Regions from separate parts of the Homo sapiens genome. Here all the other regions are linked to region 3. Evidence: promoter capture Hi-C in 16 types of primary human blood cells and fetal thymus (Javierre and others, 2016). All regions are on one chromosome and are shown on one strand. Each heading gives the region's core, a stretch centred on a gene start or on the middle of the fragment in contact. The rest is flanking DNA. Distances are from core to core; before and after follow the strand shown.

The links. The method cuts DNA at HindIII sites, captures the fragments that hold promoters and counts their contacts. A CHiCAGO score of 5 or more calls a contact.
Region 1: a contact is called between a fragment that was not itself captured here and the fragment with the promoter of BPGM in region 3, in 13 of 17 cell types (total CD8 T cells, naive CD4 T cells, non-activated CD4 T cells and 10 more). The highest score is 17.9, in total CD8 T cells.
Region 2: a contact is called between a fragment that was not itself captured here and the fragment with the promoter of BPGM in region 3, in 2 of 17 cell types (fetal thymus and total CD8 T cells). The highest score is 6.1, in fetal thymus.
Region 4: a fragment that was not itself captured here is called in contact with the fragment with the promoter of BPGM in region 3 in 13 of 17 cell types (naive CD4 T cells, naive CD8 T cells, total CD8 T cells and 10 more); the score reaches 18.0 in naive CD4 T cells.
Region 5: a contact is called between a fragment that was not itself captured here and the fragment with the promoter of BPGM in region 3, in 3 of 17 cell types (naive B cells, total B cells and neutrophils). The highest score is 7.6, in naive B cells.

What each region holds. Positions count from the first base shown.
Region 1 is chr7:135,157,416-135,163,267 of GRCh38, reverse strand. The region is part of intron 1 of TMEM140 (transmembrane protein 140); the gene reads right to left. It also overlaps a transcript of CYREN not described here. Among named protein-coding and RNA genes, the nearest start is that of CYREN, 10 kb to the left of the region's middle. RefSeq lists enhancers at 1,953-2,002, 2,083-2,172. The HindIII fragment of the contact is 6,388 bases long and covers 894-5,852 here.
Region 2 is chr7:135,513,133-135,518,695 of GRCh38, reverse strand. No RefSeq gene overlaps it. Among named protein-coding and RNA genes, the nearest start is that of CNOT4, 5.8 kb to the right of the region's middle. The HindIII fragment of the contact is 1,211 bases long and covers 2,263-3,473 here.
Region 3 is chr7:134,645,077-134,650,596 of GRCh38, reverse strand. BPGM (bisphosphoglycerate mutase) reads right to left here and starts at 3,744. Exons shown (of 3, transcript NM_001724.5): 1 at 3,660-3,744. The region is part of intron 1 of LOC124901750 (a long non-coding RNA gene); the gene reads left to right. RefSeq lists a silencer at 106-400 and enhancers at 3,408-3,517, 3,618-3,767. The HindIII fragment of the contact is 1,395 bases long and covers 3,024-4,418 here.
Region 4 is chr7:135,177,501-135,183,230 of GRCh38, reverse strand. No RefSeq gene overlaps it. Among named protein-coding and RNA genes, the nearest start is that of CYREN, 9.7 kb to the right of the region's middle. The HindIII fragment of the contact is 819 bases long and covers 3,226-4,044 here.
Region 5 is chr7:135,237,856-135,243,605 of GRCh38, reverse strand. STRA8 (stimulated by retinoic acid 8) reads right to left here. Exons shown (of 9, transcript NM_001394401.1): 2 at 2,890-3,087; 3 at 750-825; 4 at 196-280. The coding sequence starts at 3,081. Among named protein-coding and RNA genes, the nearest start is that of STRA8, 6.9 kb to the right of the region's middle. The HindIII fragment of the contact is 5,652 bases long and covers 1,067-5,750 here.

The DNA of each region.
Region 1 (5,852 bases), core at 2,838-5,337, 510 kb before region 3:
CTGTACTGATGTATTTTTACATAATCATGATGTTGAATGTAATGTTTTTTCACTAGATTTAGTAAACATTTTTCAAAGCTGTTAAATATTCTTCAAAAACATGATCAATGGCTGTGCAATAGTTCATGTGGGATCATCCATTACACTATTACTAGACAAATTGTTTCCACTTTTCACCATTATAAGTGAAGACGCTGTGTGAATCGTGTTTGGAATCTGATTTTTCTCAGGTGATCTACCTATAAGTGCAATCATTGGATCAAGGGTAGAAATATCTTTTAGTGATCTTGCTAAATACTGCCTAACTGGCCTACAGAAAATTTGCTAATCATAGTCCCTCTAATTGTATATAAAAGTGCCCACTTTGTTATACTCTTTTAAAAAATTCTTTTCACTCCGTTTTAAATCAGAAGGGCTTTGTCCAGTTGGTCTCTGAAACAGTGGTCTGCACACTGTATTTTACATATGTGTATTTTCCAGTATGGGATAAGTTTCGGCTGATATGGTTTGGCTGTGTCCCTACCCAAATCTCATCTTGAATTATAGCTCCCATAATCCCCACATTGTGGGAGGGACCCAGTGGGAGGTAATTGGATCATGGGGGTGGGTTTCCCCCATACTGTACTCATGGTAGTGAGTCTCATGATATCTGATGGTTTTATAAAGGGCATTTCCCCTGCACATGTTCTCTTGCCTGCTGCCATGTAAGATGTGCTTTTGCTCTTCCTTTGCCTTTCACCATGATTGTGAGGCCTCCCTAACCATGTGGAACTATGAGTCCATTAAACCTCTTTTTCTTTTCAAATTACTGGGTATCTCTTCATAGCAGTATGAAAATGGACTAATACAACAGCATTCACCAGGAAGTGACTAGGAACACAGAGCTTCAAGCTTTGTGAGGCACAAGGTACTGGGGCCATGATACCAAATGGCCTCCTGGAAGCCCCAGCAGGGAGTCCCAGGTGGTGTTCAGCAGCAAAATGAGTCGTGGCCCTGGGAAGGGACCTGAAGGCTACACAGCCCTGATGATCAGTTTCTGAGGGGACCCCTCTGGGGGAACAGCTCCCTCCTCTTTCCCAGAGCTGACTGGAAGGTCTGTCTCATTCTACACACTGCATTTGTTACAGAAAGGGACCAAGTGGGGAAAATAAAGAACATGGAACAGGCTGAGAGAGAGGGCAGCTCCATTCAAAGGACCTAGGTGTATGCCAAAAATGAGAATGAAGATTGACCAGCGACTTCTTTGGCAGAGACCTGGGCAGGCTGGCTGATGGAGAGCTGGGGCCTGTGAATACAGTAAGGGTGGGGTCCACACTGCCACCGCCTCCCCTCAGATGCCGCTTCTCTGGACTCAGCAGCACTGGGCAGTCTGCCCAGTTCTGCCCGTGGCTTCTGCTCCAGAGAAGCCCAGTGGGGACAGTCAGAGTGGAGGAGTGAGGGGCTGTCCCAGCAGAAGCCCTGGCTGCTGCCTTGGGTGGCACTGTCAAAGGCTCTGGAGGTCCCAGAGGGCCAAGGGTCTGAAGACTCGGGTTTGAATGTAGTTGAGAGATTCTTGGAGCAATGATGCTTGTTACGGAAGGAATTATTGGGAATTGAAAAGGTGGCATTAGTCTGGGATGATAAGGAGTTTTAACCATTTGAGTCCATGGTATGGGAAAAATTGCCGACGGGAACATATTTTGTATGGTTTTGCTTATTTAGTAAATGTTTGTAAAAGCCTATATCTGTGCTTTTAATGGGTTTGGGTATTTTAGGGTGTGGAATAGATTTCCAGGACTTCCCTGATTTATACCATCATGCTGTGGAAAAGAAGGTTTGACCTCCTCCATTGTTCAGGACCAACTGGGAAGGGACTTGGGGATGCCTTTGTTTAAACACTCCCTCTCACTTTTCCCATTTGAATTCTGTTACACTGGGGTTCCAAAAAAAATTATTAAACGTTTTGCTTTGAAAACAGCTGCCTTTTTAAAAATTAATGTGGCTCCTCGGGGAGATTGCATCAGCCACCTTGCGGCAGCTCCTGCCAGACGCCAGGAGCCTTTGTTTTGACTTCCTCATTTTCTCTCAACTGACCTTTTAATGTAGAGCAAAACAAAACGAGCCAAGAAGCCCAGGACCAGGCATGTGGAGAAGGTGGTGGCCTCTCACCTTTTTATATTCAGTCCCAGCTCTTATGAGGCTCGCCATCATCTGGTGCGACTTGGAACTTGAACTTGGAATTCTCTGGTGAGGCCCAGCTTCCCCTCTTGCCTTGTGCAGTCCAGCACCTGCTCAGCTGCTCAGGCTGTGTATGAATACATTCCCATCTGCCCATCCTCAGCCACCCCCCAGCTCCTAGAGTCCTACTCTACTTTCTGCTTCTCTAAATCTGATCCATGCAGCAAGAGCATTCCTGGGCTCCTTCAGCCCACACTCTGGTTTAGCTATAAATTAGGATTTATTCTCCACTCTAGTGTCATGTCTCTGAGGAACAGTCTTCAGTTTTGTTATTTTGATACACAGTAGGGGCTCTTTTTTTTGTTTTTTTTTTTTAAATGAGCGAATGAAAATGCTACATAGGCTCCCTGAGTTCTTTCATGTACGAATCCTGGTTACACATCTTAGGACAGCAGAGCTGCCTGAGGGAGGGTTGTGTTTAATGTCGTATGCATGCTCAGCACAGTGCTGGCATGGCCCATCCATGCTTTCTGTTGAACTATGGACAGAATTCAGGAACTTGTGTATGGAGAGGGTGGAAGTCAGTCCTCGCTTCTTTCCCTAAACATTTTGCAGTGACAGCATATGGATCTTTGGTTGGAAACCCCATGACACTCTTCTCTACTTCCCCATGGGCCTTCCCTGGTTTTTGTTTTTCTTTTCTTAAACAATCCTGGTAATGACACTTCCACCACAATGAGCTTTTAAATGTCCTTTAATGATAAGCCAGTGTTTCCTTCAGAGGGCAAAGGGGAGACTGCTGAGTCACTGTGGCCATTTTTAGATAAACCTTTTCCTGTTTATAATAACACATGCTGATTGTAGGAAACTAGAAAATACATGAAAGTGCAGAGAAAAGACTAAAAGTCATCTATACTTCAGGTCGTAGAAATAACCACTCTGAACAGCACACTTCTTTTTACACTATTGTTTTACACTGTTGGGATTACATAAATATATATGTTTGTATCCCACTTTGTGAACATCATTCTATGTGAACTAGAAATGGTTCCTAAACATTAAGGGCTGCATATAGCTGTATCATAGTTTATAGTTTATACATAGATGCTTTGTAACATTATTTTATAATGCTATGAATGCTATGGTGAATATTTTTGTGAATCAACTTATGTTTCCACCAGCAGTTTCAGAGAGTGCCTGTCTCATCCCATCCTCCCCAGTATTGCATATTCTTGAGTCTTTTATTCTTTGATAATGACAAATGATGAATCATTGATAGTTTTTCTTCATAATAAGTAAAGTTTAACATTTTCAAGTGTTTGTTGACCATCTGTATTTCTTCTTTTGTGAAGTGCTGTCAGTTCTTTTGCTATTTTAAAAATAATTTTGAGTTTCAGTTTTTGTTTGTTGGTCTGTATGAACCCTTTAAAAATAAAGGCTGTTAGCCTTTTGCCATCTTAGTTGTGACAGTAAAGTATAATGCTTTGCTGCACTAGGTCCTCTGGAACAAGATGCAGATTTAGATTCCAGGTCAGCATGTAACTTGACCACTGTCACTCAAGAGTTACAGCCTGAGCAGGGCCTTAGGAGGGAGATGATTTCTGCTTAAAGGCGATACAAATTCCTAGTTAGGGAAATAGAAGGAAAGTATTCTCAGGAGATTAATTTAAGGCAGCTTTTTTGTTGGTTTAAGCACCTCTAACATTTTCATACTAATAAGGGAGAATGGGATGGCGGCTGAAAGAGACACAAATATTGTATCATTTAATTCTAAATTATGTATTTGTCAGGTTCTTATTGAAAGAGTAAATTTTCGAAAGGATCAAGATGGCTATCTAAACACAGGTAGTATGTGCCTCCACCATGGTGAGAAACCAGAATAGTAAGTGGATCCATTTTGAACAGATTGTCTAGGAGAGAATGCTAGGATAAACCAGAAAAGATATGGGAAACATGAGAAGTAAGGAGAGGATTCGAGGCAGCTTGCCCAGCTGGGAACCGACTGAGAGTCGGGAGAGGCTCCTGATGTGGGGAAACAGTAAGAGAGAACCCCCTAGGGCTCCAAAACAAACTTTTATAATCTTGGCCACGGAAGGAAACCTCGACCCACTGGGCCAGGGCCTGGGCCTGACATTCGGAGCTGCCTAAACATTGCACAGAGGCATTGCTCCAGAAAGGAAACCAATACAAAATCTCACATGCATCTGAACCTGGAGCAGCCTCAGCAGGGTGCCATTTTGAGAGCCTAGATACTGGGACTCTACAGACATGGCTCTTGCTGCCGAGCTGCTTCAAGGAGGGAGACGGGAGAGCAGGTGCTCCCATGCACCCCTGGGAGGGTCTGCTGCCCTGCTGTGGGCTGCTATTGAGACAGATGTGAGTAGACACCCCTCCCCACAGCTTCTTTTCCACACTGCTTGTCTGGGAGGGACACTCTCTGATCCCAGGCCCAAGGTAGCATTTTGAGAGTTTAATGCTGGGCTGCATTCCCCTCCCAGCCTGAGTTTGGGCTGATGAGGCTGTAGCTGCCTCTTGGCTAAGGAAGGATAGGGAAATCAGGCCATCCTACACATATCTAGGACAAGACCCCCTGCCCTGCCATGGGCTGCTGTGAGACCGAGATGTGGCCATCCTGTGTGTTCCACAGCTTGTTGCCAATGCTGCTTACTTGTGAGGTGCTCCTCCCTCTCTGGTCTCAGGCTCCAGGTGCTATTTTGAGAGTTTAATGTTGGGCAGCACCCCTCCCTGGAACTGAGATTGGGCTGGTGCAGCTGTAGCTGCCACCCAGCCAAGGATTAACAGGGAAATCAGGCTGTCCTATGCACATCTAGGTCAATACCCACTGCTCTGCAACATGCTGCTGTTGAGACTGAAATGTGAGCAGACTGCCTTCCCTACAGCTTCTTGCCCATGCTGCCTGCCTGGAGGGACCCCTGCCCTCCTGGTCACAGGCCCAAGGTGCCATTTTGAGAGTTTAATGCTGGGCTGTGCCCCACCTTCTTGCTGAGTTCAACTTGATGTGGCTGAAGCTGCTGCCCAGTCAAGGAGAAACAAGGAATCTATGCTCTCCCGCACATACCTAGGACAATACCCAGTGCCTGCTACGGGTTGCTGTGAGACCGAGACTCAAGTAGACCACCCTCCCTACAGCTTCTTGACCATGCTGCTCACCTGATAGGGGCCCCACCTTCTCTGTTCACAAGCCCACAGCTGGCACCATTTTGAGAGTTTAATGCTGATTCATAACCAGTCTGAATTAACAATCAGGCAATGTGGCTGCAGCTGCCACCCTGGTAGGAAAGGGACAGGGAAGACCAAGCTCTCCTAAGCACACTTAGAACAGTGCCCACCACCCTGCTACAGGTGGCTGTGAGACTGGGGAGTAGCTCACCCAACCCATCACAGCTTCCAGCAACACCAACATGGACTGCTTGGATCCCAGTTGGCTGCTTCAACAGTGCTACTGCCATCACTCACATGACACCACCTGCTCAGGGGCTAGAGATCATGCCCACACACTGGGCTCACCACTCCCACTACTAGCTTCTAAGCAAGCCATGTGGAGGCCCAAGAATCAGCCCTCCAAGACCCACTAACCACCAGAGCAGCGTAAGCTGCTGTGGGGCCTAAAAAGGGCACACTTACCCCACTGTTGCCACCACTGGGGTCCAAAGGCTGCTCAGTTGGCATCCAAG
Region 2 (5,563 bases), core at 1,619-4,118, 870 kb before region 3:
TTTTGCATTGGCTAGCCCCTCTAGTATGATGTTAAATAGTAATCATGATAGTAGTGAGTATCCTTGTCATGTTTTAAAGCAAATGCTTTTAAAATTCTGCTATGAAGTGGCTGGATGTGTTGGCTCACATCTGTAATTCCAGCACTTAGACAGGCCGAGGTGGGCGGATCACTTGAGGTCAGGAGTTCGAGAGCAGCCTGGCCAACATGGTGAAACCCCTTCTTTACTAAAAATACTAAAATTAGCTGGGTGTGGTGGCATGCGCCTGTAATTCCAGCTACTCAGGAGGCTGAGGCACAAGAATCGCTTGAACGTAGGAGGCAGAGCAGAGGCTGCAGTGAGCCGAGATCGCACCACTGCACTCCAACCTGGGTGACACAGCGAGACCCTGTCTCTAAATAAATAAATACATACATTCATAAATAAATCAAACAATTCTATTAAGTGTTATGCCTGGCTAATTTTTTTTTTTTTTTTTGAGATGGAGTCTCGCTCTGTCACCCAGGCTGGAGTGCAGTGGCGTGGTCTCAGCTCACTGCCAGGGTTCACGCCATTCTCCTGCCTCAGCCTCCCAAGTAGCTGGGACTACAGGTGTCCGCCACCATGCCCATGCCTGGCTAATTTTTTATAATTTTTGTAGAGATGGGGTTTCATCATGTTGCCCAGGCTGGTCTCGAACTCCTGAGCTCAACTGATCCACCTGCCTCGGCCTCCCAAAGTGCTGGGATTCTAGGCGTGATCCATCATGCCCAGCCTTGGATTTTGTCTTTATCTTATATTTTAATATTTTGTTCATCATGGATTTTTTGCATTAACTTTGACTTTTTAAAATGTTTTATCTAAACATTATTGACCTTAATTACTGAGTTTTTAAATGTTTGCTTAAATTTTATACCCTAGGGCCAGGCACGGTAGCTCATGCCTGAAATCCCAGAACTTTGGGAGGCTGAGGAGGGAGGACTGCTTGAGGCCAGGAGTCTGAGACCAGCCTGGGCAACATAGTGAGACCTCATCTCTATAAAACATAAAAAACTTAGTCGGGCATGGTGGTGCTGCATGCCTGCAGTTGGGAGGCTGTGGTGGGAGGATTCCTTGAGCCCAGGAGTTCAAGATCTTAGTTACAGCGTGCTATGATCATGCTACCGCACTCCAGCCTAGGCAAGACCCTGTCTCTAAATAATAATAATAAAAAATAAAATAAATAAAAATTTTTAAAATGTTGTGCCCAAGGCAAACGCTGCCTTACTCCCCTAACCTAGTCCCAGCCCTGCCCTGGTCCAAGCCATGCATTATCTCCAGGCTGCACTTCTGCAGTAGTGTCCTCACTGGTCTCTCCACTTCTCCATTCACCGCCTATCTCTGATCTACTTGCCACATGACAGCCCCAGTGGTCTTTTGAAAAGATAAATTGAGTCGTGTCACTCTCCAGCTTCAAATCATTCAATTGTCTCTTATCCAAACTTCATGTAAAGCCCTGCATAATCTGGATTTTACTTCCTTCCTTAACCTCATCTCCTACCACTCTGCCTTTGTGTTCTCTGACCCAACTTCACAGGCTAACTTTCCATTCCTGGAATATGCTCAACTTCTTCCTGCTTCGGGTCTTGGCATAGGCCATTCATTAAATGGATAATCTCTTCAAATCCTTTTAATCTCAGATTAAGTCATCTCTTCAGAGAGGCTTTCCAATCTAAAGTAAATCCCTTCCTGATATTTCTCTTATCATTCTGTTCTTTGTCCTTCCTAATACTTTGACAGTATAAGTAATTTGCTTATTATTTTACTTGTGGTCTGTCTCTCCTTTTCAACCCTAAGATCTCTGAGTTTAGTGTTTTGTTTACCACCATATACCCAATATTTAACACTCAAATACTAAGTAAGTGATTAAAACTAACTAAATAACAGAAAAAAACCCACAAAATTAATGGGTTTTTGGAAAAAAAAAAAAAAGTCCCACGAATAAAGTGGCTTTAGAATGCATTAATATTAAAGCAATCTAGCCATAACAAGGGTCATGAAACTGATCATTTCCTTTGGCCTAGTACAGGGGTGTCCAATCTTTTGGCTTCCCTGGGCCACATTAGAAGAAGAATAATTGTCTTGGGACACACATAACATATACTAACACAAAGGATAGCTGAAACAAAAATATCACAAAAAAAAATCTCATAATGTTTTAAGAAAGTTTATGAATTTGTGTGGGGCCACATTCAAAGCTATCCTGGACCCCATGTGGCCTGTGGGCTGCAGGTTGGACAAGCTTGGCCTAGCAAGTCTATATTTGAGAATATATCCCAAGAATGTAACTTGAAAATGATGTTATTTATTTAAAATATCTAGCTGGGTGTGGTGGTTCATGCCTGCAGTTCTAGCGACTCTGGAGGCTGAGGCAGAAGGATCACTTAAGGCAAGGAGTTTGAGAACAGCCTGGATAGTATAGTGAGACTCCCACCTCCAAGACAAAAAATCTAGGTCAGATGCAGTGGCTCATGACTGTAATTACACCACTTTGAGAGGCAGAAGTGGGTGCATCACTTGGGCCAGGGGTTTGAGAACAGCCTGGGCATCATGGGGAAACCCTGTCTCTACCAAAAAATACAAAAATTAGCCAGATGTGGTGGTGTGCACCTGTAGTCCCACCTACTCAGGAGGCTGAGGCGGGAGGATTGCTTGAGCCCAGGAGGTAGAGGTTGCAGTGAGCTGAGATTGTACTATATTGCATTCCAGCCTGTGTGACACAGTGAGACGCTGTCTCAAAAAAAATTAAAATTAAAATCTATATATTAATAATTTTAAAAGGCTTAAAAAATGGGAAACAATCTATAATTCTGGTTGCCCCTTAACCCTCTCTTGTTTTTATTGTCCTCCTCCAGCCTAGATAAACCCAACTGTACGTAGTTTCTTTGGCAGAAACCAAGCAAATAAACATTATTAAGAAAAATCACTAAGTTGGGGAAGACATAATCACTATGATTTTTAAATTCACGAGTCTCAAATGAGAAGCCATTATTTCCCTGAAATCCTGCTGTTTTTCTGATAAAGTTGCTCTGCTTTCTACAGATGCTATTTCAATATTCGCCATTCTCCTTTTACTAAAGGAGCCACTATCTACAAGGCCATTGAAGCCCGAAAATCTGAGAGTCATTGATGAGAACTTCATGTGCAGTACATCACCAAGTCCTATTATTTCAACTCCAAAAAAATATATCTTGAATTCATCACCTTTTTTTCCCCCTATCTTTACTGCTACCACCACATTCAGAACTACCATCTGGATGACTGAAATATTCTCTTCATTAGTTGTTCCATTTTCATTTTTGCCTTTCTCCAATCCATTCTCCACAAAGCTGAGTGATCTATTTTTTAAAAATGTATAAAACGAATTCATATGCAAAAAAACCAATGAAGCAATTTATAAAGAAAATGTTTTTTTTCTTTTTTAAAAATCAACTTCCTCAGGTTGAAGAAAAGCTTTTGTTTTTGCTTTTTCCATTTTGTTTTGAGACAGGGTCTCTGTTGCCCACGATCACAGCTCACTGCAGAATTGCTGGGTCGACCTCCTAGGCTCAAAGGATCCTCCCACCTCAGCCTCCCAAGTAGCTGGGACTACAGCCATGGGCCACTAAGCCTGGTTAATTTATAAAGCAAATATTATGCTTTCCCTCTATGCCTATCTAATTACAATCCTCCCAGGTAACCAACACACACTAAATGTTTGATGTGTAATGAATCCTTCTATTCTTTTTTCTGTGATTATATAGAAATCTATTTGTATTATTTTGCACTGGTTCTTTTCATTTCTAAAAAATGTATTACATTACACAATATATTACGTTATAATGTATTTATTTATTCTTTACCTGATAAACATATCATGGGCATTCCTCCAGGTCAATATGTCATTCTTTCCCTTTCTTTTTTTCATATAGCCACGTAATATTCCAGAAAATGGAAGCACTGAAATTAAATTTATAACTTTCCCATTGATGGACATTGGGTGGCATTGTCTTTTCAAGAAGTCAGTCAGATCATGACTCTTTCCTCCATAGGCTTTCCTTTTCCTGTGATATAAGAGCTGTGTTTCCTATCTACAAGGGCCTGGATAATCTGGCCCTTGCCTTTCTTTATATTTATTTATTTATTTATTTTTGAGACAGAGTCTCACTCTGTTGCCCAGGCTGGAGTGCAGGGGCGTGTTCTCGACTACTGCAACCTCCACCTTCTGGGCTTAAGCGATTCTTGTGCCTCAGCCTTCCAAGCAGCGGGGACTACAGGCGTGCACCACCATGTCTGGCTAATTTTTTTTTTTTATTTGAGACAGAGTCTTGCTCTGTTGCCCAGGCTAGAGTGCAATGGCACAATCTCAGCTCACTGCAAGCTCCGCCTCCTGGGTTCATGCCATTCTCCTGCCTCAGCCTCCCTAGTAGCTGGGACTACAGGCGCCCACCACCATGTCTGGCTAATTTTTTATGTTTTTTTTTTTAGTAGAGATGGGGTTTCACCGTATTAGCCAGGATGGTCTCGATCTCCTGACCTCGTGATCCGCCCACCTTGGCCTCCCAAAATGCTGGGATTACAGGCGTGAGCCACTGTGCCCAGCAATTTTTGTATTTTTAGTAGATACCAGCTTTCACCATGTTGGCCAGGCTGGTCTTGAACTCCTGACCTCAAACAATCCACCCACCTTGGCCTCCCAAAGTGTTGGGATTACAGGCATGAGCCACTATGCCCGGCCTGGCCCTTGCCTTTCTCTAAATTCACCTCATGCCACCCTTCCCCTTACTCACCATAGTCCATATACACCTTCTGGTGAGGCTTTTTTTGTTTTGTTTTTGTTTTTGTTTTGAGATGAGGTCTCACTCTGTCACCCAGGCTGGAGTGCAGTGGCACAATCTTGGCTCACTGCAGCCCCAACCTCCCAGGCTCAAGCGATCCTCCCACCTCAGCCCCCCTGAGTAGTTGGGACAATAGATGTGTGCCACCACGCCCGGCTTATTTTTTGTATTTTTGGTGGGTTTTGGCAGGTTGCCTAGGCTGGTTTTGGCAGGTTTGGCAGGTTGCCTAGGCTGGTCTCGAACTCCTCGGCTCAAGTCAGCTTGCCTCTGCCTCCCAAAGTGCTGGGATTACAGGCATGAGTCACCATGCCTGGCCATGGTGAGGTTTGTTTGTTTTTTGAGACAGAGTTTCGGTCTTGTTGTCCAGGCTGGAGTGCAGTGGCGTGATCTTGGCTCACTGCAACCTCCACCTCCTGGGTTCAAGCAATTCTCCTGCCTCAGCTTCCTGAGTAGCTGGGATTACAGGCACCTGCCACCACACTTGGCTAATTTTTTTGGTATTTTTAGTAGAGACGGGGTTTCACCATGTTGGCCAGGTTGGTCTTGAACCCCTGACCTCAGGTGATCCACCCGCCTTGGCCTCCCAGAGTGCTGGGATTACAGGTGTGAGCTATCGTGCCCAGCCTGTGGTGAGTGTTTTTTTTAACCACCTCCTGTCTCTGCATATTCTCCACTCTCAACCTGGTAAAGACTACCCTCCTCTCCCCACCAATCTAAATTAGGCTCCC
Region 3 (5,520 bases), core at 2,495-4,994:
GTTCACTATTAGAAGTTCAAACACAACTGTACCTAAAAGTGTTCCATGGTCTATTACTTTTCCTAAGGCTTTGTAGAAACTTTTTCATCTGTACTTGCAGTTATAAGAACATCATTTTACAGGAGCAAATGTTACCACTTACAGGTGTTTTCCAGACACTAAAACCCTCTCATTCCCCAATCTTACATCTACTAATATTTCCTACTGATTGCTTGTTACAAGAATAACCAACCATACCAGGCAGATCCCTACTCATGGCGAAGAGATATACATATGTAATGAGATGTGCATTTGCTCAGGGCATGTTGCATGTTCCAGCCTGCATGGCATCACCACTGTGGACAACACCCACTCATGACGGACCCCTCCTTCCTATCTCTGGTCATTGTCTTCCCCAGGGTAGTAGCTTTTATCAACACAAACTGTGTCCACCAAATTCCAAAAGTCTAAAGTAAAAACAACCTAGATATGAGCCCAGCTCTGCTACTGACTGACAATGTGATCTTAACTTATTTAAATTCTTTGAACCTCAGGTTCCATATCTATAAAGATGAGGATCATGAAACTACTGTTCTCAGGGGGCTATCAGAAAGATTAAATGAGATTATGGTGAAGCACTCTACCAAAAAGTGAGAGGTAGAATGGAGCAGACTTTGACTAACTCATAAATAATGGCACAGATCTCAGGCCCGTCAAAGCAATCCTACCTTGCCGATGATATGAGCAGAAGCGAAAGCTGGGAATAAAGTAAAATGAAGGGAGGAATTAGAGGAGAAATGCTTAAATTAGGTGGTAGAAGGAGGAATGCAATCAAATATTGTGGGATGGAAGAAGGTGATGGTAAGATACAGTCTCAGAAGCTTACCAAGTACTAATATTCTGCAATCCAAATGCTTTAATGAAGTGGTTAACATTTAATTTATATTTTACAAAGTATGTTTTCCTCATATTTGTGGCTAAGTTTCAGCAGAAGGGTTTTGTTATTAAGTAATACTTTTTGTCCTGCCACCCATATAAACATCTTTCATATCAGATTTCATTCCAAGGATGTTTCAAGAAACCATTCGGTTCAAACACGTTTGTGACCTCTGTTCTTCAGGCCCCAGACACACAAAGATGAAGGCCAGGTGAATTTAGGTGCATCAATCATTACTTAAAATGTGCCTCTTAATCTCAACCAACCACAGCAGGCAAAAGAGGAAGAAAGACTAAAAGCTCTACCCAAACACTAACAGTAGTTGCTTCTAAGTGACATTTTTCTGCCACATTATACTTCGGTATGCTCCAAATTTTCTACAATAATCTGGTTTGGTTTAAATAGGAACACAAAAGAGTATATCCTTGTAATGGGGACAAAAATAGGAAGATCAATAAGACCTAGTATTTGCTAGCACAACAGGGTGACTATAGTAAAAAAAAAAACAATTTAATTGTAAATTTTCAAATAACTAAAAGAGTACAATTGGATTGTTTGAAACATAAAGGATAAATGCTTTTGGTGACAGCTACCCTATGTACTCTGATGTGATTATGCATTGCATGCCTATGTCAAAATATCTCATGTAACCCATAAATATATACACCTACTAGGTACCCACAAAAATTAAAAATTAAAAAACAAGAATATATCCTTGAAGCTGGGAACTTTTACTTGCTAATAGATGGTACAGAATTTACTGCAATGAGATTCTGCTTGTATACTAATAATTTTTACTTTAAAACAGACTTTAAATACAGAGTTTATATCTCAGATATAATTTAATGCAACATCTGCTTTCTAAAGATGCAAAAATCGAGATGGTAGGATCGCTTGAGCCCAGGAGGCAGAGGTGGAGGTTGCAGTGAGCAGAGATTGCGCCACTGCCCTCCAGCCTGGGCAACAGAGCGAGACCCTGTCTCAAAAAAAAAATGCAAAAATTAAGAGTCACAGTTGAAATGATTTGTTTAAGATCACACAAATAGTAACAGTTTCAGGACTAAAGCCAATGTTCTTGATTTCTAACTCAGAGCTCCTTCCACTATGACACTGTTTGAATTATGCTTCTCTGAAGTCCACCACCAACTGGGGAGCATCTGCGGTGTATGAGGTGCTACTGGAATACAAAGATGGCTAAGAAAGAGCTATTCCCTGGACTCACGGGAGGCAGTTCAAAAAAAAAGAAGGCCGGGCGCGGTAGCTCACACCTGTAATCCCAGCACTTTGGGAGGCCGAGGCAGGCAGATCACCTGAGGTCAGGAATTCGAGACCAGCCTGGCCAACATGGTGAAATCCTGTCTCTACTAAAAACACAAAATTAGCTGGGCGTGGGGGCGCATGCCTGTAATCCCAGCTACTCGGGAGGCTGAGGCAGGAGAATCGATTGAATCCAGGAGGCGGAGGTTGCGGTGAGCCAATATCGCGCCATTGCACTCCAGCCTGGGCAACAGAAGCGAAACTCCGTCTGAAAACAAAACAAAAAAAAAACCAAAACAAAAGAAAGAAAGAAAGAAAAAAGACAAGGCCAGGCACGGTGGCTCACGCCTGTAATCCCAGCACTTTGGGAGGCCGAGGCAGGCAGATCACCTGAGGTCAGGAGTTCAAGACCACCCTGGCCAACATGGTGAAACCCCGTCTCTACTAAAAATACAAAAATCAGCCAGGCGTGGTGGCCTATGCTTGTAATCCCAGCTACTTGGGAGGCTGAGGCAGGAGAATCACTTGAACCCGGTAGGCGGAGGTTGCAGTGAACCGAGATCGAGCCACTGCAGTCGCTCCAGCCTGGGCGACAGAGCGAGACTCCGTTTCAAAAAAAATAAAAAATAAAAGACAAATTGACATGAGTTCTGCTTTCACTATTAAAAAACCTTTAGTACCTACAGGTGAAACTTAGCTTTTGATTTTTCCCCTTCTTGGAAAGAGTCTGCATTTAGTCAGCTAACATTCTAGTACCACTCACAAGCTAAAGATCTTCCGTAATTTGCAAGGGAGGCAGTAGGGGGATGAGAGTTATAAGTTAGCTAACAACCAACTATTCTTTAAAGCTTAACTGTGAACTTAACTGCAATTATGCATTTCATTGACCTTCTCTAGTGTAATACCAGCTCGTCCCTTAGAAAAGAGGAAAATACACTTACGTTTTTATTTCTAGTGGTTCTAAGAACTTGTGATTTGGCTCCAGATTCCTACATGAAAACACTGCATATATTCACCTCCTTCTCTTTTCACCGCATTCGAGTTTTTCTGTCTACTACACAAAATGATAGATAGGGCCAGGTCTGCCAGAACCCTAAATACAGCGGCATCGCCCTGCTTCCTTCCAGGGGATCTTACTATTGGAAGGGCTCTGCTACACAGTACCTCAGACATCCAGAAGAGAGTTTATCTTCCCTCCAACTTCTATATATTCTTGCCATAAGGACAGCACTACCAAAGCGGGCTCCTCCTCTCAGTTGACAGAACGGTGACTGCCTGCGAGGCTCATTCTGAGATAGGGACAAGGGAAAGGGACCGGGGCGATAAGTGAGGGTCCCAGCTTGAGGGCTGGAGTGGGCACCAGACTCCCACCAACGACTAAACCGGGGGAAGTAAAGAAACTGGCCTTCCCCGCACCCAAAAATAAAACATCACATCACTAAAAAATGTAAACGTTCGCAACATTTTCTAAAACAAAGCCACTCACCTGCAAAGGGGCCACCAGCAGCAGCAGCAGCAGCAGCAGCCGCTCCTCCGAGCCGCCAAAGAGCCAGCGCCTCCTAGGACTCATCACTGCCGCCGGCATCGACGCTCTTTTCTAGCCCCTGAACCAGACGTGGGCAGGTCCTAGGGCTCTGCCTATTGGAAAGTCGAACTGTCACTCATCCACGGTCCCGGCCTACTCCCGGAACAGGAGAGGTCTCTTCCGTTTACCAAATCCCAGGAGTAAGAAGTGGGGCTCTGATTGGTTTACTCTAGAGACGAGCACATACCTGAACCAGTAAGGAGTTGGCTTCGACGCCAGCGGGCAGGCTTGGGCCTAGGGAAGTAGAAAAACACACCCTAGAGCGTCGCTGGTGCAAAACCTCGGGTGCGGGGAGCATCTTAGCTGTTTGAGGTTCTAGAAAGCGTTTAACGTCTTAAAAGAAACACCTGCGGGTGAAGACAGGTGTCAGCGGACTCTTGGAAGAGAGGAGGTGATGTTTCTTTTACTTATGGGAAATTTAGGGATTGAAACCTGAAGACGAAGCCGAGGTATCCTCCCAGAAGAAGCTCCTTTCGCACAAATTACTCGTGGTTGAAAGTCTTAAGTCGTGATTAAAACAAATGCCTTTAAAGTGCCCAATTTATAGGCAGTAACGCAACCTTACTTTCTCTTACCGCTTTTATAGGGATTCCCCTAGGCAGTTTGCTGACAGTATTTTAGGTGGGGAAGAAAAGTGATTAATGGAATGCCCTAAAAGCTTATTGCACAGAGGAAGGGAGGCTAGAGTGGAATGAGAGAATGACAAATTTGGAGGCGACAATAACTGAACAAGAGAAATCTATGAAAACACCGGAAACCTGGCACGAGGCCTTAAAAGCTTCTAAGCAGGCTTGAACTACCACACGAGGTTTTGAAGCATATGTGTCAGAACTCTTGGGTGGGCGGGAAAGATAAGGAATGTTATGGGAGATTCCCTTCTTAGAAGCTATCCTAAGTAGTGTTTCGTGTCCTCCTGTGAGTTTTTCCTGTTTCATCCTCCTAACAAATGCATTAGGTTTGTGACACGCAAGCAAGTCCTCAGAATAAATTATACATACAGTTGAAAAGATAATCTTTCCACATTTGAAATTCTGTGACACACTCTTTATTGAACTCATTAAGACCTAATCGTAGCCAGTTCTGTATCTCATTTATCCATGTTAGAGCATGACAGTTCCTCCTGGGATATCAACAGAACTTTACTTCCGGGACGGCACTAATCCGAGGCTTGACAGGTCCCAGCAGGTGATAGGTCTCACCTAGTGATAGTTAGAATTTAACTTGCACAAGATTAACTAGAGTTCAGGCCAGAACAGCTGGAAGGGGCAGCTTCCAAATCTTATACATTTGCCCTCTTGCTTTTTTCTCAATATCAGTTGAGGACAAAGTAAGGAGAAAGCTTTTCTTCTACAGTGTAATAAAGCTCCTATTCAGAGTGCCCACCATCCATACTCCGGAGGCTAATGACAGTCATTACCAAGTGACAGTCTTGTGGCATTTGGCATTTAGGGCTACTTAGTCTGGACTTAAGGGCGCCTACTCATTGGATTTAAGTTTACTGTTGTTATGGACACCCATGGAATGCTAGCTTGTCACATAAAACCTTAATATCAAACATCACTTGCCTTTTAGAATCATTCGCAAGAGTATGTGGCTTATGAATGAGTCATTTTGATATAAGATGGAAGCTTATATCAGTGATTCTGTCTAGAAGGAATTAAAAAGCAGATTTTCATCAGGAGCAAGCATGTTTGTAAGACAAATGTGCACAGAGGCTAACAGAATTTCAGGAGTTACTTTTGCCCTATGGCAAGATTGTTCT
Region 4 (5,730 bases), core at 2,386-4,885, 530 kb before region 3:
ATGTGCAAGGGGTGGTTCTGTTAAAGAAAAACTTAGTCAATGATACTCGTTAAAGTACAGTAAAGACTACTATCTTGATAGGTATAGGGACCACTGCAATGGAGTCTTGCATGTGGGAGAGAGATTGGGCTCAATTCCGAATACAGCGTGCACAGTGGGAATTCATAGCCAAGGAGCAGGGTGGAGGTCTGTGAATAGAAAATTACTAAGAGGAGCCATCAGGGTAAGAGAGATTCTGGTGAAACTGACCTAACAGGACTCTTGCTGAATACAGGCTAGGGTGATAGGCCACTCGGGGATGGTGGAGGGTGAGGAGCCTGATAAGGCTTGGAGGGTGATCAGATACCGAGGGGAAAGGGGTTTTTGCTAAGACTGGATTTTACAAGGAAGTGCACAGACGGGCCTTGCAGAACACTCAGAAGCCTGACCGAAGCTTGGACTAGTAAAGCCTCTTTGTCAGTTCCAATTGCCAAGGATTTTTTTTTTGTTTCCATAAGTGGCAAGGCAGAATAGCCAAGTATTTTCTGTTCCTTTATTCACAAGGAAAAGATGCTTTTCCACCCCAGCCCATGAGACCTGGGCTTGTCCTGGCTCACAGCCGGTGAGAGCGGGGACCCTGGAGGTCAGTGACCCTAACCCCTCAAGGTGACGGTGGCGGGGAAGCAAGTCCTGCCTGAGACTGCCCTCCTGAAGAGCTACATGGACCCCAGTGTGGCAGTTCGGTTTGTGACCTGAAGGCACTGGGGCCGCCCCTTCAGCCTTGCTGTCTGGACACTGTCCCACGCAGCCAGGGGCTGAGGGCAGAGATCCAGCTGCGTGGGTGTCGCTGCTGTGGAGGAGCCACAGGCGCCGCACAGGGAGGGAGCGTGGTGTCCGAGCTCGCTGCGCCCGGGTGTGGGTAGCACCCATTCTAGCTGCTGATTTTTTGCGAACCACGTTTCAGATCACTGTCCTGAGTTCCCATTTTAGGGCCAGATCTTGTCAGATCATCCTTTCAACCTGAAAACGCTGCTGGGGAAAGCCTCACTGGCCACTGCTTGCGCAGGCATTTCCAGTCTGGGCTCTGGCGTCCTGTGGGCTGTGTGAAGCCAGGAGTGTGGTTTTCAACTAAAACTCGGCGCTGACGCCACGTGACCGCGGCGGAGCCCAGCATCCAGCAGGACATGTGGGCAGAGGGGACCCCTGGGGCCGCCACCAGAATATTAAGCATTAGCAAGGCCTCCTGTCTTGAAATGTTGCGAAAATTAAGGGACAAGAGAGACCGAAGAATTGGATGCAGGAAAGTTTTTATTTTTAGGTGTACATTGGCTCAGTGGAATTGCATCCAGAAAATCTAAGCATAGATCAAAGAAAACGAATGTCTTTTAAGCATTTTGAGGCAGGAATTACGTGAAGCAGGAAGCAGGCTTACAGAAGCAAGAACAAAGTCCATTAATTATCTTGTGACACTTTTGCAACATGTCTTACATCTCTGGGAAAACTTAGTATGCAGCTTATGCTTATCTGTCTTGTGACCTTGCAGCTGTACAAGGAGGGAAGAAAACACAAGCTTACAGAGCCTACAAAATACCTGAAGGGCAGATATGGTTAATGTTTCTTGGGACTGGCAGTTAATATCCTTCTTTAACTCTAACTTCAGGGGGGCTACTTAAATTCTTTTTAGCCTTGGTTGGTACAGCAATTCATTCTATGAGCTATTATTTCTGTTACTATAATTTTACTATTATTACTTATGCTATTATCCTATTTTAATTTTCCACTTCATTCCCCCCTTTGGTGCTCTATATAAATGTTGGTTAATAGCACCACAGTTGTTTATTTTTTCTTGAGTCGGTACATATTATTCTTGGGGCAATACTTAGTCAATGCCATTATTTGAGTAGTAGTGTATTTGGCCACAACTGCCTCTATAGTTGACTGAACACTTCTGATGAGAAGAGGTAGGAGACAAGGGAGAATTAGGCAGGCACCTGTGATAAGCAGGAACCCACCTATTAAGGTTTTGAACCCACTAAAGGTTGAAAACCATCCTTCAAAGAGAGAATCTGGAGACCAACCTGACCAGGTTTGAACTGGAACTTGGGCTAACTTCCACATCCTGGCAGTAATTCCCATGACAGCTCGCCTATTGTCTATGTCTAAACAGCAGTTTGTTAGATTAAACTTCCCACATACTCCTCCTTCTGAGGCTAGGAGGTAATCTAGTGCCAGCCTGTTTTGATATATGGCATTCCTTATCTGTGTAGCTTGTACAGCTAGTAAATCTTGATGTTCATAGGTTCATCAAAAAGCTCTTGATGTTTCATAGGTTATTATTTCAAGAACAGCCTGTAACCTTATGATACAGTTGAGCATATAAATTGGGGTGTGGTATCCCCATTACCTATTTTGTGCCTAGGTAGCTGGCCCATAGTATTTAATGATTTTTTCAGGAGGCCATTGATTATTTTTCTAGTCTCCTATGTCTATGTCTTTTTTGATATTTATATTTATTTTTGAGATCATGCTCCTTTTAGTTCTTTTATTCTCATTATAGACTGGATATCCTAAGAGTTCCCCTTGCTTTAGAGGAATTAGAAAGAAGGATGGCTTGATTGTTCCTAATACACATGCTCTTGTCCATTTAGCTGGCAGTTGCTGATATGCCTGTGCTCCACAGATCCAATATAGGCCTTTTCCTGAACAAAAACAGTAACATAATAATAAGATAATCAGTATTACTAAGATCACTACTAGGCTTATAAGTTCTATCCACATTTACTTATCTAGTGAAGACTCCTCAAGCTTTGGCCATGCGTAGACTAGTCAGCTTCCAGTGTGTGACTACAGCAGGGTTTGACTTCTCAAGCTTCAGTTGTGCGTAGACTGACCAGCCTCCAGAGTGATCACAGCAGGGTGGTTGACTTTCTCAGTGGTGTCGTGGTTTTGCCACAGGATTAGTCATGTTGGATGGTCTGAGTCTTGTTGACTGGTTCACTGGTCCTGCGCAGCCAGCTTCAGTCGACTGTGATGAATCCAAGGTGTGATACCTGCAACTTTAACAGCAGTGGGAGTAGACAAGATTACAGTGTGGGCCCATCCCATATGGGCCCTAGTGTGGTTGGGTTCCATTTCTTAACCCAAACCAAGTCCCCAGGTGTAAAGGGGTGAACTGGGTCTGTTAGGCTTATAGGCAATTTTTCTCGTACCCAGCCATGAATCTTTTGCATAGCTAATCCTAAAGCTTGCATTTGCCTTTTTAAAGTTAGTTCCCCTAGTTCCCACAGATCACCTTTTACCTGATTTATAATCGGGGGTGGTCGGCCGAACACAATTTCACAGGGTGAAAGCCCAGTCAATTTGGTAAGGGTACACCTGACTTGGAGAAAGGCCATGGGCAAGACCTGATCCCACCTAAGATGAGGTTCTTGACAAAACTTCAGCAGATGTTTTAGTGTCTGGTTCATCCATTCTACCTTTCCTGAGCTCTGTGGGTGGTAGACTATGTGCAATTTCCACTTTATCTTTAGCAGCTGCGACAGCTGCTGAACTACTTCAGCCATGAATGCTGGGCCATTATCTGATCCTAAAGTTAGAGGCAGTCCAAACCTAGGAATAATGTCTTTTAGCAACACTCTGGTTACTTCTTGGGCTTTCTCTATCCTGGTAGGGAATGCCTTGACCCACCCTGAGAAAGTGCAAACAAACACTAGCATGTACTGATAACCCCGTGCTCGGGGCAGTTCGGTAAAGTCCACAAGCAAGTTTTCACAGGGTGTAGCTCCGGTCTCTTGAATCCCTGGGGGCTGAGTTGGCACTTGCCATGGATTGTTCTGGGCGCAGGTTAAACATTGCTCACAAACGGCTCGAGTGATGGCAGTAAGGCATGGCACATAGAAATGCCATCCTACAAGAGTTTCTAATGCAGTCTTTCCCATGTGTGTTCCCTGATGAAACTGCTTCATAAATTGGGGGGCTATTGCTTCCGGAATAGCTAGCCTCCCATCTGAGAACTTCCACCTGCCTCCTTGTATGTAACTTCCGCTCTCTTGTTCAAACCAAGCTTTTTCATTGGGAGAGTAGCTTGGGGTTTCAGGTAAGGAAGGTTCTAGTAGAAGCAGCAGGGTTGGGGTTTTCTTTTTAGTACTTGAGTTGGACATAGCTGCTTGTCTGGCTTCTCTGTCTGCCTTCCTATTTCCTTTTGCTTCTATGCCGCCTCTTGTCTGATGTCCTTTACAGTGAATAACGGCCACCTTGTCTGGGGCCCACACAGCTTCTAAGAGTTGTAAGATTTCTTCTTTAATTTCTTTCCCTCCAGCAGTTAAGAGTCCCCTTTCTTTGTAAATGGCTCCATGGGCATGTAATGTAGCAAAAGCATACTTTGAATCAGTATAGATATTAACTGTCCTTCCTTTGGCTACTAGTAGTGCTCTATTTAGAGCTATTCTGCTTTTTGTGCTGAGGTCCTGGTAGGGAGGGCCTGTGCCTTGGCTACTGAATTTAGAGTCACCCTGCGTACCCGGCTCTGCAGACCCCTTCTGATACAAACCTGCTTCCCTCTGTGAAATATTCAGCGTCTGGGTCCTTAAAGGGTTGGTCTCTTAAGTCTTTCCGGCTTGAGAACACCTCATCTACTACGTCTACGCAATAGCGTTGGGGAAACTGGTCTTGCAACTTCGACATTTCTACAGGCAACAGGGTAGCCGGGTTGAGGGTATTCGCGGTTTTTAAAGTTACGTATGGATTTCCACATAAGAGCCCCTGATATCTTAACATTCTTGGATTAGATAGCCAGTGATATATCCTCTTTGCTCCATTAAGGTGATCACTGTGTGTGGCACCCGTATTATTAGCTTTTGTCCTGGTGTCAGCTTCCAGCATTTTCTGCCAGCATGGCAGTGGCAGCTAATGCTTTTAAGCAGGGGGGCCACCCCAGGGCCACAAGGTCTAACCGCTTTGATAAATAGGCTACTGGTCAATACCATGATCCTACTGTTTGAACTGAAACTCCTGTAGTCATTCCTTTTCTTTCATGGACATAGAAAAAGAAAGGCTTAGTCAGGTCTGGCAATCCCAGGGCTCGAGCTTGGCTTAAGGCCTTTTTGATCTCATTAAAGGCCTTCTTCTGCTCATTACCCCAGAGGAGGGGCTCTTTTTCTCCCCCACTTTGTGGCTTCATACAATGGCTTTGCCGTGAGTGAAAGGTTTGGCATTGAAGTACAGCAAAAGCCTGCTGCCCCTAAAAACTCCCTTACTTGTCGCCGGGTGACAGGAGTGGGGAGCGCACATATGGCTTCCTTCTGCCCACTGCCGAGTTCACGCTGCCCTTGGGCTACTAGGAAACCTAGATATCTTACTCTTTTTGCACAGACCTGAGCTTTTTCCTTAGACATCTTGTAACCTGCCTTCCATAGAAGGCAAAGGAGATCTTTGGTGCCCTGGAAGCAATCTTCCTCGGTAGGTGCCGCAAACAAAAGATCACCAATGTATTGTAACAATACACACTTGTCATTTGGTGGGACAAAAGCCTTGAGGTCTGATGCTAGTGCCTCTTCAAAGATAGTGGGGGAGTTTTTGAACCCTTGTGGGAGCCTGGTCCAGGTGAATTGTGTTCCTCCCCATTGGAATGCAAAAATAGGCTGACTCATTGGAGCTAGCCTGAGGCAGAAAAAGGCACCTTTTAAGTCCAAACAGGAAAACCAGGCAGCATGAGCAGGAATGTGGCTCGTCATTGTATACGGGTTTGGCAAC
Region 5 (5,750 bases), core at 2,643-5,142, 590 kb before region 3:
ATTGGGAAAAAATTGATGCATGTTGCTAGAATAAAAGAGAAACGAATGGTCTCCAGCATATGGCTGTTTTGAATGGTGAGCAGCAGCCCTGATGGTCCTGCAGGCTGGAGAGGAAGGGTGAGTTGCCACCAGACAGTACTGATGGCTGTGAGGACACAGCAGGTCCCCAGCTTCCTGGGGTTTGTGGTGTCTTACCTGTCATTTCCAGAATACATGCTGGCATATTCTTTCTTGACCTCCTCTAAGCTGCTTGCATGCCCATCTTCCAGGTTGAAGGATGCTATTGGGGAGTTGAAGACCAGGAACACAAAGAGAAAAGTCAGGCCTCTGTTGAGTCTCTCCCACCCTTCTGGCCCAGGTGGGCTGTGGGTGGGACCCTGAACCCTCCAGGGTCAGCATTAGGGAGACCAGGGTCCAGTTTTTCCTTCTAGGTGTGAAGGGAGAGCCTTAGACAAGCAGGAGCCCACTTTTCCTCTGGCCTCTGAAGATGAGATCAGGTGCCTTTGGCAGCACTCCAGTAGGGAACTCATCAGAGTCTCATGGCCTGGTGACTCTGGCCAGTCTTGCTGGACTGCAGGCTCACTAAGGACAGGGACCCTCAACATTGGCCCAAGCACAGTTCCTGGCACACAGTAGGCCCTCAATAAATATTTGTTGATTCATTGTAACCCAACTTCTGTTTTCAATAGAAAAACAGATCCAGTTTTCTCCAGGGAGGGAGATGGGGTTGGCAAGTAGTGCTCCATTACCTTTCAGCTTCAGCAAATTATCCAGGGTTTGCTCCAGTTCTGGAATATGACTCTTTGCCTTATTCAGAACCTGCCACTGAGGATAGACAGAGACAATGCTGAAAGCCAGCCTCTCACTGCAGAGACTGATTTTGTGGACCCAGGAATCCCTTCCCAGGGCTGAGGCCACGCTCCCTCAGATGCAAAGTCACATCCCTTAACCTTGTCAGTAAAAAGAATAGGAAGTTTGTTCTGATGCACAGGAGGCAGGAAGTTTTGTTTGTAGCCTAGAAGTGGGTTCTCACCGAAATGCCAAAGGATTTGGAAAGAGTTAAGCTTTGTTCAGCAAATTGCTAGTGCTGTAGAAAGGCAAATGACTACAGAGGCGGCTTGAAGGTGGAATAAGGAGTGATGGAAGAGGCGCATTCTGCATGAACGTCAACCCCAGGCTTGCACAAAGCAGAGCTAGACTTCAGCTCAGTGGTAACCCTGTGCAAAGGGCTAGTTAATATTAAATGTCCTATTCTCCCACTATTTTTATTTGCTAACTGCATACGCTCCAGATGATCTAAAAACTTATCAAATGCTGTCAACCTGAACTCTAAATTTCCCTCTTTCCCTTTTTCCCTCCCTCCCTCTCTCCCTCCCTCCCCTCCCTTCTGCTCCCCTCCCTCCCTCCCCCTTCCTTCCTTCCAACTTCCTTCCTTTTTTCCCTCCCTCCTTCCCTCCTTCCTTCCTCCCTTCCTCCCTTCCAACTTCCTTTTTTCCCTCCCTCCCTCCCTCCCTTCCTTTCCTTCCTTCCTTTTTCTTTCCTTCCTCCTCTTCTCTTCCTTCCTTCTTCCCTCCTTACTTCCTGTATGTAACATTATTAAAGTCAAAATGGTAACAGCAAGATTATTCAAAAACGAGCAATGCTAAAATGGTAACAGCAAGATTATTCAAAAACGAGCAATGCTAAATGTTGTTTGTTAGGCTGACCACCTATATCTGTCAGGGGCTGCATGCATCCCTTGGGCATGTACAAGGGCAAAACTATGTGGTAAGTCCCAGGGATACAGAGTACATAAGACAGTCCCCTCTCTCAGGGTGCTGACCTCTGACAGGGAAGACAAGCATGGAAACAACCCCTTATAACACAATATAGAATTAAGTAGGTACTAACAAGGGGTAGAAGCAAAGGGCTGTGAAAATGTACAAGGAGGAGGGAATAGTCCAACTGGAGGGGTCCAGAAGATTCCATGGAGCAGGGCAGCTGAGCAGAGTGAGCCAAGCCCAGCTTTGAAGTGTGCACAGAATCCCAAAGGCAGAGCTAACTGCATGAGCAGAGACACAGAGGCCATGAGAGGCAGGCCTGGCTCAGGGAACTGCTGCAGTGAGATGTGGCCAGAGTGTGGGGTGGGCATGGAGGGGGGACCCCAAAGCAGCTGGGGGCAGAGTAGCCTGGGATTTGACATTCTAGATTCCAAGGATTCTAGTGGTGCCTAAAAAGGAGACTTGAGGGGGCTGGAGTCACAGTGCTCTGCCAGGCCAAAGAGGAGGTGAAGGGAACCGCAGCTGCATGATGATACAGTGGATTGCAAGCTCCCTGAGCACTCCTATGTGTTTTGCTCTCCCCAGTCCCAGAGCTCATGTTGATGCTGTTGGGTCAGCAAAGACTTGGAACCAGGGGCTGACTGATTTCCAGCATCTTGGGCTTGTTCGTAGGGTGGAAAGATGATTGTCCACCTGCTGTGGTCTGAATGTTTGTGTCCCCCCAAAATTTAGTATGTTGAGACCCAATCCCCAATATGATAGTATTAAGAGGTGGGGGCTTTTGGAAGGTGATTAAGGTGATTGGTGCCCTTATAAAAGAGTCCTGAGGGAACCTGTTTGTCTTTCCCCCATGTGAGAACACAGCAAGATAGCCCTGTCTATGAACCAGAGAGCATGCCCTCACCAGACACCCAATCTGATGGCACCTTTGTCTTGGACTTCACAGGCTTCAGAACCTGGAGCAATAAACTTCTGTTGTTTATAAATTACCCTGTCTAGGGCATTTGTCGCTACCCCAGCAGAAGTGGCAGCTCCAGGCCAGTCCCTGCCTTGCAACACAGTCCCTCCACCTGTGAAAACGTCTCCTTCCCCGTGGAGATGTCCCCTCTCCTCCTCCAGGTCCCCATACCTTTGAGGCTATGAGATCAGACTGAGAGTACACTGTCTTCCTGAGGTTGTTGAAGAGCGCTGCCAGGGTGGCTCGGTGGCGGGCCTGGGACAGCCGTCTCCGGGCCACCCGATGCTCAAGCTCCTGCAGCTGTGCTGGCAGCTGGGGTGTTGCTCTGTCATGGGGATTGCTGTTTTCTTCAGGGGTTGCCATTATAAGCTGTAATGTAATAGTATGCTTTTTTTTTTGCCCTAGATAATAAAAATACAATATTAAAGGAAAAGGAAGGCAAATTGAGGCAGGCAGAAAGGAGGTACCCTTCCCAAGTAAAGGCCCCAAATTCACTCCCTCATGAATTCAGTTATTGGCAAGATTTACAGTGAGAGAAATTTGAGAAGTTTACAAAAGCCCTTTGAAGGTGATGTTGGTCAATTGCTAATTAAGAAAAGCAGATGGAGATTATACAGGGTCAACACAAATTCTGTTTTTGAAATTCAACTCCTAAAACTGCAAACCACCCATATAGGACTTAAGAGTTGAGGGGCCCTGGAACTTACCTGGAAAGGTTCCAACACATTGCAGATACTCACCAGACACTTGTTAATTTCAGGGGTTAATTTTACGCGTGGCCAAGGAGAGCAGCTGTACCCTGAGATCTCAGGCTTTACTTTAGTCTGTTCAAAGCTGAACAGGTACTTGTCCCCACTGTGAGGTCTTTTCTACCTCAAGAATGCCCCCTCTTTGATGTGGATAGTAGTTACACAGGTGTATGCATATGAAAAAAAAATCCCTCAAGGGGTACACTTTAGACTCGAGAATTTTTCTGTGATATACCTCAAGGAAAAACATAAAAAAGAAAATAAGAAAATTCACTTTACCACCTGTGCAAGCAAAAGTCACCTGACGACAGAGAACTGAAACCCATTTTGCCTTATCTTGCCTCTAGTGGGTTCTGGAGATGATCACTGTGTCCTTCTTTGTTACATCTGAGCTTACAAGCCAGAAGCCCTTCCCTAGGAGAGGCGATTCTGGGACTGACATGTAATTGTTTTAATAAGATACAGGGGCCAGGGCCTTTTACCTGAGCCATAGACCCTTCCATCAGGCCTCACCCCACTACTCAGAGATCTACTCCCCACTAGCCTGTCTGCTCTTTGGACAGGGAGGCTGCGACTTCGTCACTTCTGTACCCTCAGTGCGTAACACAGAGCCTGGCCCCCATTAGGTGCTCAGTACTGGAGTTTCTGGTGAATTACAGTGAGCGGTTTCTGCTAGGTCTACTCCCTGCTGAGCTCAGTCCATACAGAGACAATGCATGACCTCCGCCAGGGGTTTGTTAATTTTGAGGTATGTTAGTGTCACCTGCAGAGACTGTTGAAAATACACATGCCCAGGCCCTGCCTTGAAAACATCGGATCTGAACCCAGCGTGCAGCTCCCAGGGTGATTCCTATACTTTCACACTTTGAGAGCCACCGCTAACTCTTGATTTGTGTGTCAAGCATCACCCCAGCTGGCAGCAGCTGGAAACAATCTTCATTAAGGGGTTATGAGGAAGGGAGATGGAAGACACCTTTCCCACTATGCTATAGTATGGAAAATAGGCCAATGAGATGGTAAACCCAATCAGGCAGTGTGGGATGTTGAAACACTTTTTAGCTCAGAAAACAACTTCTCATCAATAATCTGGTCTTCCCCAGTGTATCAACTTTCCCTTGTTTTGCTTTTTGGAACAGGGCAGGAAGATGGGAACAGTGATGCTGTGGTTGCCCATGCTGGTCCGTGCATGTCTCTGTCACATCTGTTACCAGGAATTACACTGTGGTATCTTCCAAGGGAAAACAGCACCAATCTGCAGAGGCCCCTCAAGCCCAGCTCCAGGGTTATGTTAGATTAGAGCCTATGCCTTCATGGTCTTCAATTCCAGATACCAACTAATCTTTAATAGGAAGCAAAGTGAAACTGTGAAGATTTTGAACTGCCCAGGGAAAATGAGAACCTTTTGAACAGAAGAATATAGGTTTTTTTTGTTTTTTGTTTTTACTTGTTTAAATTAAGGAGCAACAGATGTGTCTGGACACCAGGGGATTTAGGTTAACATACAGAAAAAGGGAAGCGGGTGGGAAGCACTGTTCTAGATGAACAGAGATATAAAAATAACAGGGTCCTCCCAGGACCTCAAGTTCTCTAACAGTCTCAGGATACTAACACCAAAGGCCTCTGGGCTTGTAGGGAATCTGGAGTTCTCCCAATGCCAGTGCTGGGTGTCCTCCCTTCTGCCCAAACACGCTCAGCCTGAAATTCCTGGATGGCTGTGTGGACAGTTTCAGCCCTGGACAAGAGTGCAGTCCTCTGCCTCCCCCATAGGGGGCAGACTTCCCACCAGTCGCCTCTAGGAGCCGCCAGGGCTGCTCGCCCCTAGGGGCGGGGACAGCCCCAGAGCATGCTGGCCAAGCTGCCTGGAGCCGTGGCCTCCATCTTGCCTGCCCCCAGGCGCCCCCTGGTCAGGAGCTGGGGGAAATTTACACCCCCGCCCCCCCTTGGCTCAGGGAGGGGGCACACCGCAGGAAAGATGGGAGATGACCCTCCTACTCTGCTTTAAGGGCAGAATCAAGCGCTGGAGATGTTACTCTTAATTAGACCTTGAGCGATTTTCAATGTCTTCCCTCTAGATCCTGCCTCCTGTTCACTACTAGGAACCACTGTGCTATGTATGATCCGCACAAGGCATTCTTTCCTAGTTATTTCGATTGACTTGGAATTTTTTCCGTCTCTGTGGCCCTGACAGGGTCTTAGGTAGATCTTTGTTAGACTGAGCTCTTTTTTTTTTGTTTTGTTTTTTGTTTTGAGATGGAGTCTGGCTCTGTCGCCTGGGTTGGAGTG